Regions from separate parts of the Homo sapiens genome. Here region 1 is linked to region 2. Evidence: promoter capture Hi-C in human tissues and cell types (Jung and others, 2019). All regions are on one chromosome and are shown on one strand. The core of a region is centred on a gene start or on the middle of the fragment in contact, and the rest is flanking DNA. Distances in the headings are between cores, read along the strand shown.

What was found. Contacts are between HindIII fragments. The study calls those that stand out against the background at their distance.
Region 1: a fragment that was not itself captured here is called in contact with the fragment with the promoter of PGLYRP1 in region 2 in 5 of the 25 tissues and cell types used here (aorta, heart left ventricle, heart right ventricle and 2 more).

Annotation. Positions count from the first base shown.
Region 1 is chr19:46,126,705-46,133,874 of GRCh38, forward strand. It overlaps a transcript of IGFL2 not described here. Among named protein-coding and RNA genes, the nearest start is that of IGFL3, 5.6 kb to the left of the region's middle. RefSeq lists enhancers at 6,104-6,935, 6,936-7,170. The HindIII fragment of the contact is 6,419 bases long and covers 1,222-7,170 here.
Region 2 is chr19:46,020,988-46,027,603 of GRCh38, forward strand. PGLYRP1 (peptidoglycan recognition protein 1) reads right to left here and starts at 2,066. Exons shown (of 3, transcript NM_005091.3): 1 at 1,748-2,066. The coding sequence starts at 2,034. RefSeq lists an enhancer at 674-1,559. The HindIII fragment of the contact is 20,258 bases long and covers 1-6,616 here.

The DNA of each region.
Region 1 (7,170 bases), core at 3,181-5,680, 110 kb after region 2:
CAAGCCAAATCATGGTGTTTTCTGATATTTAAAATGACAGTTACACTCAACACATGAAACATAAGCAATCCACACAACTTAATTGAAGTGTCAAGAATATTAACCTGAAGACTTAGTTCGTCCCTGTACAACTGGCAGCAGCTATGTCACTCTGCTTGTCTGATAGCTATTGCAAGACCCTATTGATGATACGATGCATCACTAGTTCAAGGGTATGGGAATGTAGAATATATATGTACATCTCTGAGTGGAGGAGAGTCATTCCAATTTGAAACTTAGTATATTTATGAGGATCAGATGAAGACACACTTGAAAAGCTCCCAGCACAGTAGCTGGAGTGTGTCAAGCTTTTCGTATTTTCTCTCCTCAACTGTGCTTTCTTAAGAAAGCTGCAAAATAGTCTGGGCACAGTGGCTGACACCTGTAATCCTGGCACTTTGGGAGGCTGAGGTGGGAGAACAGCTTAAAGCCAGGAGTTCAAGACCAGCCTGGGCAACAAAGCGAGACCCTGTCTGTACCAGAAAACAAAAATAAAATTAGTTGGGCATGGTGGTACATGCCTGCAGTCCCAGCTACTCGGAAGGCTGTGGTGAGCTGTGATGGCACCACTGTAATCCAGCCTGGGTGACTGAGTGAGATGCTGTTGCAAAGAAAGAAGAAGGAAGGAAGGAGAGAAAGAGAATAAGAAAGAAAGAACAAAATATACACATCTTGTTCCATGAACTATTGACAATTTAGGTCATAGGCAATCATTCTTAGTCTAAATTTTCTTGAAGGAAGAAATAACTTTCTGTCTGGCACTAAGTTTCAACATAATTTAGGTCCCGGACAATTTTTGCTGATTTAATGAAAATTATCAATCCTCCCAGAAAATTGTTCTTAAACGGATGTATAGGTAGATAGGTAAGATGTATAGGTAGGTAGGTAGGTGGGTAGATAGGTAGGTAGGTAGATAGATAGATGATGGATGGATGGGTGGTTGGATATTAGATAGATGTTAGATTGATAGACAACAGACAGACTGCATGCAATTTCTTTTTTTTTAGAGTCACTAATTTTACTTTTTTAAAATGTTAAAAAATCTACTTTTAATTTTTTCGTAAGTTATTGGGGTACAGGTGGTATTTGGTTACTTGAGCAAAGGAGCCACTGGCCACAGAAGTTTCTGGTTGGTGAAGCGACACCCCAAGGATCCCATAACACTTTGGGAAGTATGGCCATTTTTAACAATATTGATTCTTCCTATCCATGAGCATGGAATGTTTTCCCACTTTTTTGTGTCATCTCTGATTTGTTTGAGCATTATTTTGTAGTTCTCCTTGTAGAGATCTTTCACCTCCCTGGTTAGCTATATTCCTAGGTATTTTACTCTTTTTGTGGCAATTGTGAATGGGAATTGCAGTCCTGATTTGGCTTTACTGTTGTTGGTGTATGGGAATGCTAGTGATTTTTGTACATTGTACAAAAAATGTACATTTGTACATTGATTTTATATCCTGCAACTTCGCTGAAGTTGCTTATCAGCTGAAGGAGCTTTTGTGGAGACTGTAGGGTTTTCTAGATACAGGATCATGTCATCTGCAAACAGGGATAGTTTGATGTACTCTCTTTTTATTTAGATGCCCTTTATTTCTTTCTCTTGCTTGATTGCTCTGGCCAGGACTTCCTATACTATGTTGAATAGGAGCAGTGAAAGAGGGCATCCTTATCTTGTACCAGTTTTCAAGGTGAATTCTTCCAGCTTTTGCCCATTCTGTATAATGTTGGCTGTGAGTTTGTCACAGATGGCTCTTGTTATTTTGAAGTATATTTCTTCAATACCTAGTTTATTGAGAGTTTTTAACATGAAGAGGTGTTGAATTTTTCTCAAAAGCCTTTTCTGCATCTACTGAGATAATTATGTGGTTTTTGTCTTTAGTTCTGTTTCTGCAATGAATCACATTTATTGATTTGCATATGTTGAACCAACCTTGCATCCCAGGAATAAAGCCTGCTTGATCATGGTGGATTAGCTTTTCATGTGCTGCTGGATTCAGTTTGCCGGGATTTCTTGAGGATTTTTTGCATTGATGTTCATCAAGGATATTGGCCTGAAGCTTTCTTTTCTTGTTGTGTGTCTGCCAGGTTTTGATATCAGGATGATGCTGGCCTCATAGAATAAGTTAGGGAGGAGTCCCTCCTTCTCAATTTTTTGGAATACTTTCAGTAGGAATGGTACCAGCTCTTCTTTGTACATCTGGTAGAATTCAACTGTGAATCCATCTGGTCTTGGAAATTTTTTGGTTGGTAGGCTATTTATTGCTGATTCAATTTCAGAACTTGTTATTGGTCTATTCAGGGACCGAATCTCTTCCTGGTCCAATCTTGGGAGTGTATATGTCCAAAAATATATCAGTTTCTTGTAGATTTTCTGGTTTATGTGCATAGAGGTGTTGATAATATTCTCTGATGGTTATTATTTCTGTGGGGTTAGTGATAATATCCCCCTTTACATTTCTAATGGTATTTATTCGGATCTTCCCTCTTCTTTTTTAATCTAGCTAGTGTTCTATCTATTTTATTAATTTTTTTCAAAAAACCAACTCTTGGATTTGTTGATCTTTTGTGTGTGTGTGTGTGTGTGTGTGTGTGTGTGTGTGTGTGTGTGTCTCTGTCTCCTTCAGTTCAGTTTTGATTTTGATTATTTCTTGTCTTCTGCCGGCTTTGGGGTTTGTTTGCTCTGGGTTCTCTAGTTCTTTTAGTTGTGATGTTAGGTTGTGAAGCTGAGTTCTGACTCTCTGAAGTGGGCAATTAGTACTATAAATTTCCCTCTTACTCCTGCCTTAGCTGTGTTCCAGAGATTCTGGTATATTGTATCTTTGTTCTCATTGGTTTCAAATAGCTTCTTGATTTCTGCCTCAATTTCATTATTTACCCCAAAGTCATTCAGGGGCAGGTTATTCAATTTCCATGTAATTGTATGGTTTTGAGCAAATTCCTTAGTCTTGATTTCTAATTTGATTGTGCTATGGTCTGAGAGAGTGGTTGTTATGATTTCGGTTCTTTTGTGTTTGCTGAGGAGTGTTTCGTGTCTGATTATGTGGTCGATTTTTCAATGTGTGCCATGTGGTGGTGAGAAGAATGTATATTCTATTGCTTTTGTGTGGAGAGTTCTGCAGATGTCTATCAGGCCCATTTGATCCAGTGCTGAGTTCAGGTCCTGAATATCTTTGTTAATTTTCTGACCTGATGATCTGTCTAATACTGTCAGTGAGGTATTGAAGTTTCCCACTATTATTGTATGGATGTCTAGATCTCTTTGAAGGTCTCAAAGAGCTTGCTCTCTGAATCTGGGTGCTCTTGTGTTGGGTGCATATGTATTTAGGATAGTTAGGCCTTCTTGTTGAATTGAACCCTTTACTATTACATAATACCCTTCTTTGTCTTTTTTTATCTTTGTTGGTTTAAAGTCATCTGAGATTAGGATTGCAACTCCTGCTTTTTTCTGTTTTCCATTTGCTTGGTAGATTTTCCTCCATCCCTTTATTTTGAGCCTGTGGGTGTAATTGCATGTGAGATGGACTGCATGCAGTTTCAAGGGTTCAGGTTCACTGTTTATTTAAACCAAATACTACAGGGTATGATCTCCTGAACTAAGTGGGTGAAGTACACGTTTCCTATGAAACAGCCTTTTTCATTATCTCACAGGGCAATAACTTCTTTAGAGTTTTGATAAATATTTTAGTTCCCCCAGCAAGCATCAGATGATGAGTTAAAGAACATACCATGTTATTTAAAATATGGCATTTGTTTGTCTACATGCTGTTTATTGAGGTTCTTGGAAGCACCTTTTCATTATGTTTATAAACTGGTTACTTGCAAGTGGTTGCTTGCCAGTTTAAACTAGCTTAAGCTGTGGCAAAAAGAGGAATTTATTATCTTTGGTAGGTTCCAAATTAAAAAATAAAGTGAGCAAGAACTAAGATTAGAAGAAATTTATGAGCTTGGATGAAGGTTCCCAGTATTTCTCATTATTTTTATGTTTAATGATGTATAGTTCCTTTTCTGTAAATGATACACTATTCAGAATAATTGTTTTGGGTTGTTTGCTTCCTTCTTATTAATTTATAAATGCTCTTTTTATATGGGAGATACTAACCTTTTGTCTGTTATATGTTTTCCTCGCCTTTGTGTTTGTTTCTCAGTAATGCTGGTGGAGTCTTCTTTTTTGAGATATTTTAAATTTTTATGCAGCAGTGTCTTTTACCACTGCCCTACATCTTCTTTCCACTTTTTGGCTTCCGCTTACGTAAGGAGGCCATCTCCAACTTAAAGTTCTATGAATAGTTCTATATTTTTACTTTCTTTTTAGTCATTTTTATTCACATATAACTTTTTCTATAAGATGTGATGCTGAGTCTAAGTTAATTTTCTTGCTAATGAATGTCCTATTGAATCTGAAATTACTTGTTGACTAGTTTCATCCCTTTTCTTCTAATGTACAATGTTACTTTTCTTATATCTCAGTTTTCCATTATTAGCTTTATCTGTTGATGGACTCTGTTCAATTGATTTATGTGTAATTTTTCTAGGTAGTGTCTGGTTCATTTACAGTAGCTTTGTTTTAAATTTTAATAATAGACAAAAACTTCTCTCCTTATTACACTACATTAAGCTTTACTCGACAATATTTGTGCAGTCAGCTTTAAGAGCTCCCAAGTAATTTTCTAAACCCTCCTCCTAAAAAATAGCAAAATTTAAAAATGGGAATTCAGATGAAATTTTTTTGTAAACATTGTTTGGCTTTGGAAAGCATGAGCATTCTAATGTTTTAATACTTTCTGTCTCAGAGGTTTATCGACTTCTTTTTTTATTAGGTCTAGTTTGCTGTCAACACCCATTTAATTTTACGTAAACATGCTCTTCGAGGCTGAAGCGAATATGACTGATTTTCAGTGTGAAAATAAAACATAAAAACCCCTTCTTGGCTCATGCCTGTAATCGCAGCACTTTGGGTGGCTGAAGCAGGCAGATCACTTGAGGCCAGGAGTTTAAGACCAGCCTGGCTAATATGGTGAAACCCTGTCTCTACTAAAAATACAAAAGTTAGCCGGGCATGGTGGCCTATGCTTGTAGTCTCAGCTACTCGGGAGGCTGAAGTGGGAGAGTCGCTTGAACCCAGGAGGTGGAGGTTGCAGTGAGCCAATATTATGCTACTGCACTCCAGCCTGGGGAGCAGAGCGAGACTCCCTCTCAAACAACAACAACAAAAACAAAACTGTTCTTGGAGTTGTTTCTAAACAGAACTTGTCTCTAGTATTAACGTAGCAGAAATGTATATGATTTTACATTAGTATTAAAGATAAGAATATTCTTGGCCAACAGGAAATGGGTTAAAGCCTTGCAGAGGAGGGAAACAGTGAATTTTGTCATTCACTTAACCAGTTTTCACACACACACAGAGAAAGTCCAGAAGCCTGGCTGGTAAGAAATTCTTACCCTTTTGCTGGCATGCTACGGTTTTGGGTTCTCTTTTTCTGAGCAACTTTGGTGACCTTGCTCCCTGTGGCATAGCTGTGGGGGCCAAGCCACGTTACAAAAGAAAATGATCCCTTTCCATTTCATGGAACCATAGGCAAAAGTCTCTCCTTTTTACAAGAGGCCAACCAGTGGGTTGCATGGGAAAATAAGATATTGAATTAAATGCACAGAAAGAAAACAATTCATTGGGACATAAGTGACACAAACTTTGGTTCCACGTGCTGTCAGTTCTCTCCTTAAAAAGCCAGCACCCAAAGTTGATAGACTCACACACCCAAACAGACAGATGACAGAAAAGTCCACAGGCTTCCCCTCCTCACATGGTGTGGCAAAGAGAAAGTGAAGTGGTGAGGGGTTTTGAATAGAGTTACAGGATTGAGGGCCAGTATGACAGAGAAGGGGAGAGAGAAGGAGAGGAAGAGGGAGGGAAAACGATAGAGGGAGAGAGGGAGGGAGAGGGAGAGGAAAGAAGAAGAAAGGGAAGGAGGGAGAAAGGGAGGGAGAGGGAGAGGAAAGAAGAAGAAAGGGAAGGAGGGAGAAAGGGAGGGAGGGATGGATAGAATTGTTTCTTGGGACTGGAACCCAAACCAACTTAGGCCAGGGAAAAGGTACACTCTGTCCCACTGCCTGCTGAGTTGATCAGATCCAGGTAGTCAACGATTTCAACCTGTCCCTCACAGATATCTGTTCACGTGACCCAAACCACTAAGGATTAGGAGAGGAGAGACAAGGCACCCTAAGTGACAGAAAAGTTAGGAAGTGAAAAGGAGAGAAAGCAAGAAGGGAAGGGAGAAAAGCATTGCCTGCAGGAGGGATGGGGGAGGCAAGGAGGGCTGGCAGGCTGGAGAAAGACTCAACCAGCTTGGCGACACTGAATCAGAAGTTCAGGCAGCTGCTTGTCAGCCGTGAAGGGATCTTGTCCAGCAGTCCCATCAGCTCACAAGTCTCCCCCTCAGGGAGAGAAAGGCTCCCCACATCCCATTGTTGGGAATGGGTGCTCGGTGTCACAAAAATCAACACTGAGACAAAGGATCTCTCAGCAAGGCTAGTTTACTTTCTGCAGAAAGAGGGCCGCTTGCTAGCAGTCTTGCCATGAGAGCACACACGAACAAAGGAGACAGGGTCATTTATAACCTGATATGCCACCCTACTGCTGTGTCTGGCTTCCGTTGGCTGGAATGGGACCTCACATTCTGTACTTGACCTGATTGGCTAGCAACTTAGAACTTCCCCAAAGAGGCAAAGGCAGAGGAGAACAAAGGAAGACAGGAAGTAACTTGTGGAATGCTGAGAGAGGCAAAAGCACTTCCAAATAAGGAAGAGGAATAGGCTATGACCTAATGCTTGCTTGGGCCTGTTCAGGCATGCCAGGGCAAATATCTAGGCTAAAATGCGGTAGCTAAGAACGCAGAGTATATTGATTTCTTTATTATGGCTAGCAGATATTTAAGAATATTAGCACAGGTCTTTGAGTAAATTTTGCTTCTAAGAGAGGTTACTATCTATTCTCAATTAGACTGGGAGGAAAGTCCCTCTGAAGAGGAACCTCTACTTATTTTATTTTCTACACCATGATCCCAGGCAAGCCCCTAAATAATACATTACTGGTCTTGGGTTCTTGGGCTCTCAATGCAATAGAAACTGACATGA
Region 2 (6,616 bases), core at 816-3,315:
GTTGGTTCTCCCTGGTCATTTGTTGCATGAATGCATCTCATTGAAACCTCAGCCACCATCGCCAAGCGGGTACAGTCAGAAGCCCCATTTACAGGTGAAGAAACGAGGCTCAGAGAGAGAAGGTGACGTGACATGGAAAGGGGATTCAGAACGTTAGAACCAGATTCGGAATCCTAAAAGCTGAGGGCCAGACAGCGGCTGCTTCTGTATGTGGTGATGTGGACCCGAGGCTCGGGCCTTCGTGACCTCATGGGAACACTTAGGATCAGAGCGCCTGAGTCTTGGAAACAAAATGTTGAAGTTGGAGTCTTTGATAAAATCTTGAACTGGAAGGGCTGGGAATACCTTTGGACACTTCTAGACTTCTCTGGGTGGGTTTTGTGTGTGTGTGTGTGTGAGACACAGCCTTAGGAGGTCCTGAGAACATGTGTCCCCTGGGTGGGGTCTATTGAAGTGGTCTCTGGGGACCTGCATGTTCCTCCAATAAGCTCTGCAGGAGATTCTGATGCTTACCTGGGTCTGAGAGCCTGCAGGATTGAAAGTTCCCTCCCTGTGGAAACCGTCAGGCTGGACTGCAGCCCATTCTAAGGAGGAGGTAGCTGGTAGGCGTGGCCCCGGACCTGCTTCAGCCTGCTTCAGCCGGCACCCCTTACAGTCTGTTCTCCCCACAGCAGCCAGAGGGAGTCTCTTGTACCTACACTAGCCCTGGTCCCTGCTCTGCGGGGGGAAGCCTCCCATGGCTCCCATCTCGGAGTAAAAGCTACAGTCCTCACTGTGGTCCACAAAGCCCTGCCTGGTCCTGCCCTTTCCTCATTTCATTCCGCTCGCCCGGCTGTGTTCAGCCACCCTGTCCTTCCCACAGGACCCGCCCACTCAACCCCGTTGGCTTTGCCCCCAGCACCCCCTGCCACCTGCAGGCCTCTGTCTGCTCCCCCATCCCAGAGCCAAGGCAGCCACTCTCAGGGAGGCTTTCCCTTGCCCCACCCTTCCAAGGAGCCTGTGTGGGTCTGGTCCCAGCCTGAGGTCACCCTCCCTCACCTCTTTCCTTTTATCCATCGCCTCTATCACCGTCTGAATTCACCTGTGGCCTTGGCTTGTTTCTCCCTGCTGGTCTTTCAACCCCAGGAGGCTAGAGTGGCACCGTTCTCCATGCCACATCTGGCACACTGCCTGGCACATAGTAGGTGCCTAATGGTAATAGCCCGTGGCTTTGCGGGCCCCCGTGTGCCAGGCAGTTCCTAGGTGCTTTGCCTGTATTGGCTCATATAAGGAGCAGATGGGCCGCGATTCCATTGACTTTGCCGAGGAGGAAGCTGAAGCCGGGAGGACCCGCCCCAGGCCTCAGCCAGCAATAAGATGAGCTGACCCTGGAACCCAGCTCCGCACTGAGTCAGCCTGGTTTTCCGCCTCCTAACAAAGGCACCAGGCATCAGGAAGGGGCGCCTTCATAAGGCGTCGCGGACACCTTGGTGTGTGTTAGGCAAAGCCTGCCCCTTCTTCCCGGGAGCGGGAGCGGGGCTTGGATTTCAGCCCATCCCCCCTTCTCACGCATCTTTGTGCTGTGAGCACCTGCCCCGGCCCACGTGGTGACCCGAGGAAGAAATGACCTTGTGAGGTTCAGTAAGCTGCTCAGGGTGTCAGCCAGGTGGCCTCAGCACCAGGCCTAGAAATGGTCCCGCTGGCGGGCACTTGCACACCTTTGCCTCTGGGATCCCCAGTCCAGCCCGTGCCCCCCTGCCACACTCACTTGTAGCCCACGTCGCACCAGCCCAGTGTCTTCATGTGGTAGTGCTGCACATTCCGGGCCTGCTGCTGGCACGAGGCGGGGGTGTTGCAGCTGCTGCCCGCCGTGTGCGATACCACCACATAGCGTAAGGGCAGGCTCAGGTGCTGGGCGCACTCTGATGCCAGGGCCTTCCACTCGTTCCGGGGCACTATGGGGCTGCAGCAGGCCGGGTCTTCTGTCTCCTGAGCCGCTCCGAGTCGAAGGAGGCTGGGGAGAGCCCAGGCAAGCAGCATAGAGCGGCGGGACATAGTGGCAGGGCGGCAGGGTCCGGGAGACCGCTAGGAGCGCCCGGTGGAGGGGCCGCCTTTATCTGCTGGGGGATTCCAGGAGTGGCCCGGAAAGTCTTGCTTCACACCCTGCTGGGACTTCCTGCTGGCCCAGCAGACCCCAGACTCAGCTTCCTTCTCTGGCTGGGCCAGGGCGGGATGCACTGTGGTTGGGGTCTGGGTCACGCCCACGGCAATGACAGGCCCCCTCGCTCAGCAGGGAGGGACGCACAGGCCCCTGGGCGCTTCGCCCCGCCGTTTCTGGAAGACCCGGGGCCGGGATCCCGGTCCTGCTTGTCTCTCCTCTCAGTGGAACATTGAACAACTCAACAGGAACTTACATCGCAGAGGCCCGGGGCATTGGCACATCTTCTCCCCGCAAGGACTGAGGTAACAAAGCTACCCATTTTAAAAACACTTCCTTCCCCCAGGTCCAAGCCTGATGCCATTTACGCTTGCAGCAAACTCAAGAGGTGAGTATCTGGAAGTCCATTTCACAGTGGAGTAAACTGAGGTTGAGAGCAGGGAAGTCACGGGCTGAGACACCGGAGGCACTGGAGCCCCGCGTCTAGAGCCAGGCTGCCTGCATGTGAATCCTGGATATGCAGTGTGTGAGAGCCTGCAAGTGGTTTTTAAAAATGTGTATTTAAAATTTTTTTTTTAATTTTCTATTTTATAAATAATATTTTCCTTTTTTTTTTTTTTTTTTTTTGAGATGGAGTTTTGCTCTTGTCACCCAGGCTGGAGTGCAATGGTGCGATCTTGGGCCACTGCAACCTCCGCCTCCTGGCTTCAAGTGATTCTCCTGCCTCAGCCTCCTGAGTAGCTGGGATTACAAGTGCACACCACCACGCCCAGCTAATTTTTATATTTTTGGTAGAGACGGGGTTTTGCCATGTTGGCCTGGCTGGTGTCGAACTCCTGACCTCAGGTGAGCCACCTGCCAGTGTTCCAGAGTGCTGGGATTACTATAGGCATGAGCCACCGTGCCTGACCTGTGTGGTGTGTTTTCATCTTCTGTGTTCTGCCTTCTCATATACATTGTACTCATGCTGTTACTGAATTGTGCACCAGGCATCTGTAGCACTTTTCAGAAATTATCATATACTCAACGACAAGCTTGCCAGATCCATGTTATTATTAACCCCTCTTACAGTTGACGGAACTGAGGCCCGGGGGGATGATCACATACAGGAGGTGATGAAGCCAGGGTTTGGCTACAGGCTTTCTGCCTGCAGAGTTATAAACCGTATTCTCCTCCCTACAAACTTATATAAGGACATTAAAAAAAAAAATCAAAACCATGTGCATCAATTTACCTTTTGTCACCTAATATTTCATGGGCATCTCACCAGGGCAGTACATCTAATTCTAATTTATTCTTTATAATAGTTGCACAATATGCTATAGTATCAGTTCAGCATTGTGGATCTTTTAGTTTTTGAAGGTTTTCCAGTATTTTCTCCACACTACGCAAAATATTTTCAGACATATATCCCTATGCACTGGTGCATTTATAAGTAAATTATAAACACAGAGTTATTAGGTCAATGAGTATACATATTTAATTAATATTACCAGATCATTTTCCCCAAAAAGCCATTAATAATTCATATTTTTCACCAGTAATGTTTTGGAGCCTCCTCACCCCGACCCCAGAAGTGGGTGTTATCACTTTTTTTTTTTTTTTTTTGAGTCAGAGTCTCGCTCTGTCACTCAGGCTGGAATGCAGTGGCACGATCTTGTCTCACTGTAAACCTCCACCTCCTGGGTTCAAGCCATTCTCCTGCCTCAGCCTCCCAGGTAGCTGGGATTACAGGCATGTGCCACCACACCTGGCTAATTTTTGTATTTGTAGTAGAGATGGGGTTTCGCCATGTTGGCCAAGCTGATCTCGAACTCCTGAGCTCAGGTGATCCACCCACCTCAGCCTCCCAAAGTGCTGGGATTACAGGCATGAGCCACCTTGCCTGGCCAGTGTTATCACTTCTTAAATTTATAAGTATAAAGTGACAGCTCCTTTGGCATTTTTATACCCACTCAGGAGACTGGGTATTTTTCTGTATTTGCTGTCTATATTTGGGCTTGCTCTTTTGTCAATTACCTGTTCATATCCATTGCCCATTAAAAAAAATTGGGTTGTTTGCCTTTTTGTTATTATTTGCAAAATGAACAAAAGAATCCCATAATTGGGATTTTTGACTTCTTGGGTGTGTACATTTTGTGTATTTCAGTTTTTTTAGAAGCATTAAAGAATAATGTAATATAAAAAGTGTGTAAACACATTTTTTATAGAGTTGATAGACTTAATAGAGTAGTGAGCTTATGAGTGTTCACGAAGTGAATCCACCTGTGTATCCAGTGCCTGGATTAAGAAGTAGAGCTACACTTAAAATTTTAATAGGAATTGGTAAATACAATACCAAAAAGATTTTAGTATATATTTTTCCCACAATATGATCAGTTTTTAAATGTTTTACTAATCCAAAGAACAAGATCTCATTATTGCTTTATTTGCATTTCCTTGAACATTAGAGAGGTGATTATCTTTTTACATATTTATGGCTATCAGCATCCATCTTCAAACTGTCTGTTCATCTCTTCTGATCATTTTCTTGTTGAGTTGTATATGGGGGATATTAACCCTATGTCTTATCAAATGTGCTGTAAACCCTTTCCTCTAATCTGTTAAAAAAATATCTAGGTTTTTCTTTTATGGTTTCTGTGTTTCCTGTCTTGCCTTAAGAGGGACTTTTCACACTAAGATTGTAAAACTTTTTCTATTTAAAAAAGATTATTTTGTGTTTTACTTTTAGATCTTTATCTCGGCTAAAATGTATACTTGCATGTGGTGTGAGGTAGGGGTCTGATCTTGTTTCCAGATGCCTAGCCGTTTGCCCAGGTTCTGTTTATTATATAGGTAGACCTGGTTTTAAATTTCCATTCTGCCCCTTATTAGCTACATGATCTTGGGAAATTGGATAGCAATTGACACAGTCGACCACTTCCTCCTTCTCAAAATACTTATTTCCCTTAGCTTTTGTGATGTAAGACTGCCTTGATTTTCCTTCTGCTTCTCTGGCTGGTCTTTTTTTCTCTCTCTCTTTTTTTCAGAGCAATTCTTCCCTCCTGGACCCTCAAACCATATATTTTGTGCTGAGTGATCTTATCCACATAATGGCTTCAGCCACAGTCAAAATGCAGAGGATTCCTGTATTTCAATGTCTAGTCTGGAGCTCTCAGTTGAGTTCTGGATCTGTGTATCCACCTGGCCACTTGACGCCTCCACTTGGATGTCCCACAGGCACCTCCAATGCAAAATGACTCATGACCTTCTCCTCCCCATCAGCACTCTCACAGGAGTTCCTGTCTAAGGAAATGGTATCACCATCTTCCCATTACAAAAGCCATACATTTGAGCACCATCCTTGACTAATTCCTGTTCCTTCCTCTGTTGTACCCAGTACCCAAAAGAATGCCCAGCACATGGTAGGTGCTCACTAAATAGCTACTTGATTGAATGGATATGCAACCCACCACCAAGGAATGCCACTGTGATGAATTAGAACTCTTCTATCTAATTCCATTCTCTGCACCCTGGTCCAGACACCACCTCCTTTCACCTGGATTTTGCCCTGCCTCTTCAGTGACCTCCCAGGATGCACTCTGGCCTCTGTGAAGCCAAAGCTCTGCTCAGATCTTTTCTAAAGTCACCCTCAAAAATGAGTCACATTTTTCATTGGCATCTCTTGATTCCTAGAATGAGGCCCAAGCTCCTCCCCATGGCCAACAGCATGGGCTGCCTACAGTATGGGCTGCCCCCATCCCAGCCTCACCTTGCTTACTCCCAAAAGCCTCTTTCTGACTCCTGCAGCCACTGTCCCCTTCTTGCTGCCCTTGAACATGCTTTGACTACCCTGTTCCCTTGGGGACTTCAGACACACCAGGTATAAGTTTTAAATAGAGGAACCTGGAACGAATTCAGGAACTTTGTACCTTAGCTTTAAGACAACAAAACACCAAGCCAGCCTTTTGTAAAAAGACAGGACTATTTACACATCACATTCCTTTTTTTAATTTTTATTTTCTTTTTTCCCTTTCTTTTGCCTGTTCTTTCATTTGAGGCACAGATCCCTTAAAGACACTAAGAATATAAACATTAGCCAGCTGGAGTGAAGCCTTCCATTGTGAGAGTTTTATTTAGTCTGTATCTTTAAAAAAATGTATTTACTTATTTATTTTTTGAGACAGTTTCACTCTGTTGCCCAGGCTGGAGTGCAGTGGCACAATCTTGGCTCACCACAACCTCCGCCTCTTGGGTTCAAGCAATTCTTTTGCCTCAGCTTCCCTAGTAGCTGGGATGACAGGTGCCCACCACCATGCTCAGTTAGTTTTTGTATTTTTTTTTTTTTTTTTTTTAGTAGAGATGGGGGTTTCACTATGTTGGCCAGGCTGGTCTTGAACTCCTGACCTCAGGTGATCTGCCTGCCTCGGCCTCCCAAAATGCTGGGATTAAAGGTGTGAGCCATATTTACTTACTTATTTTTACATACAGGTGTGAGCC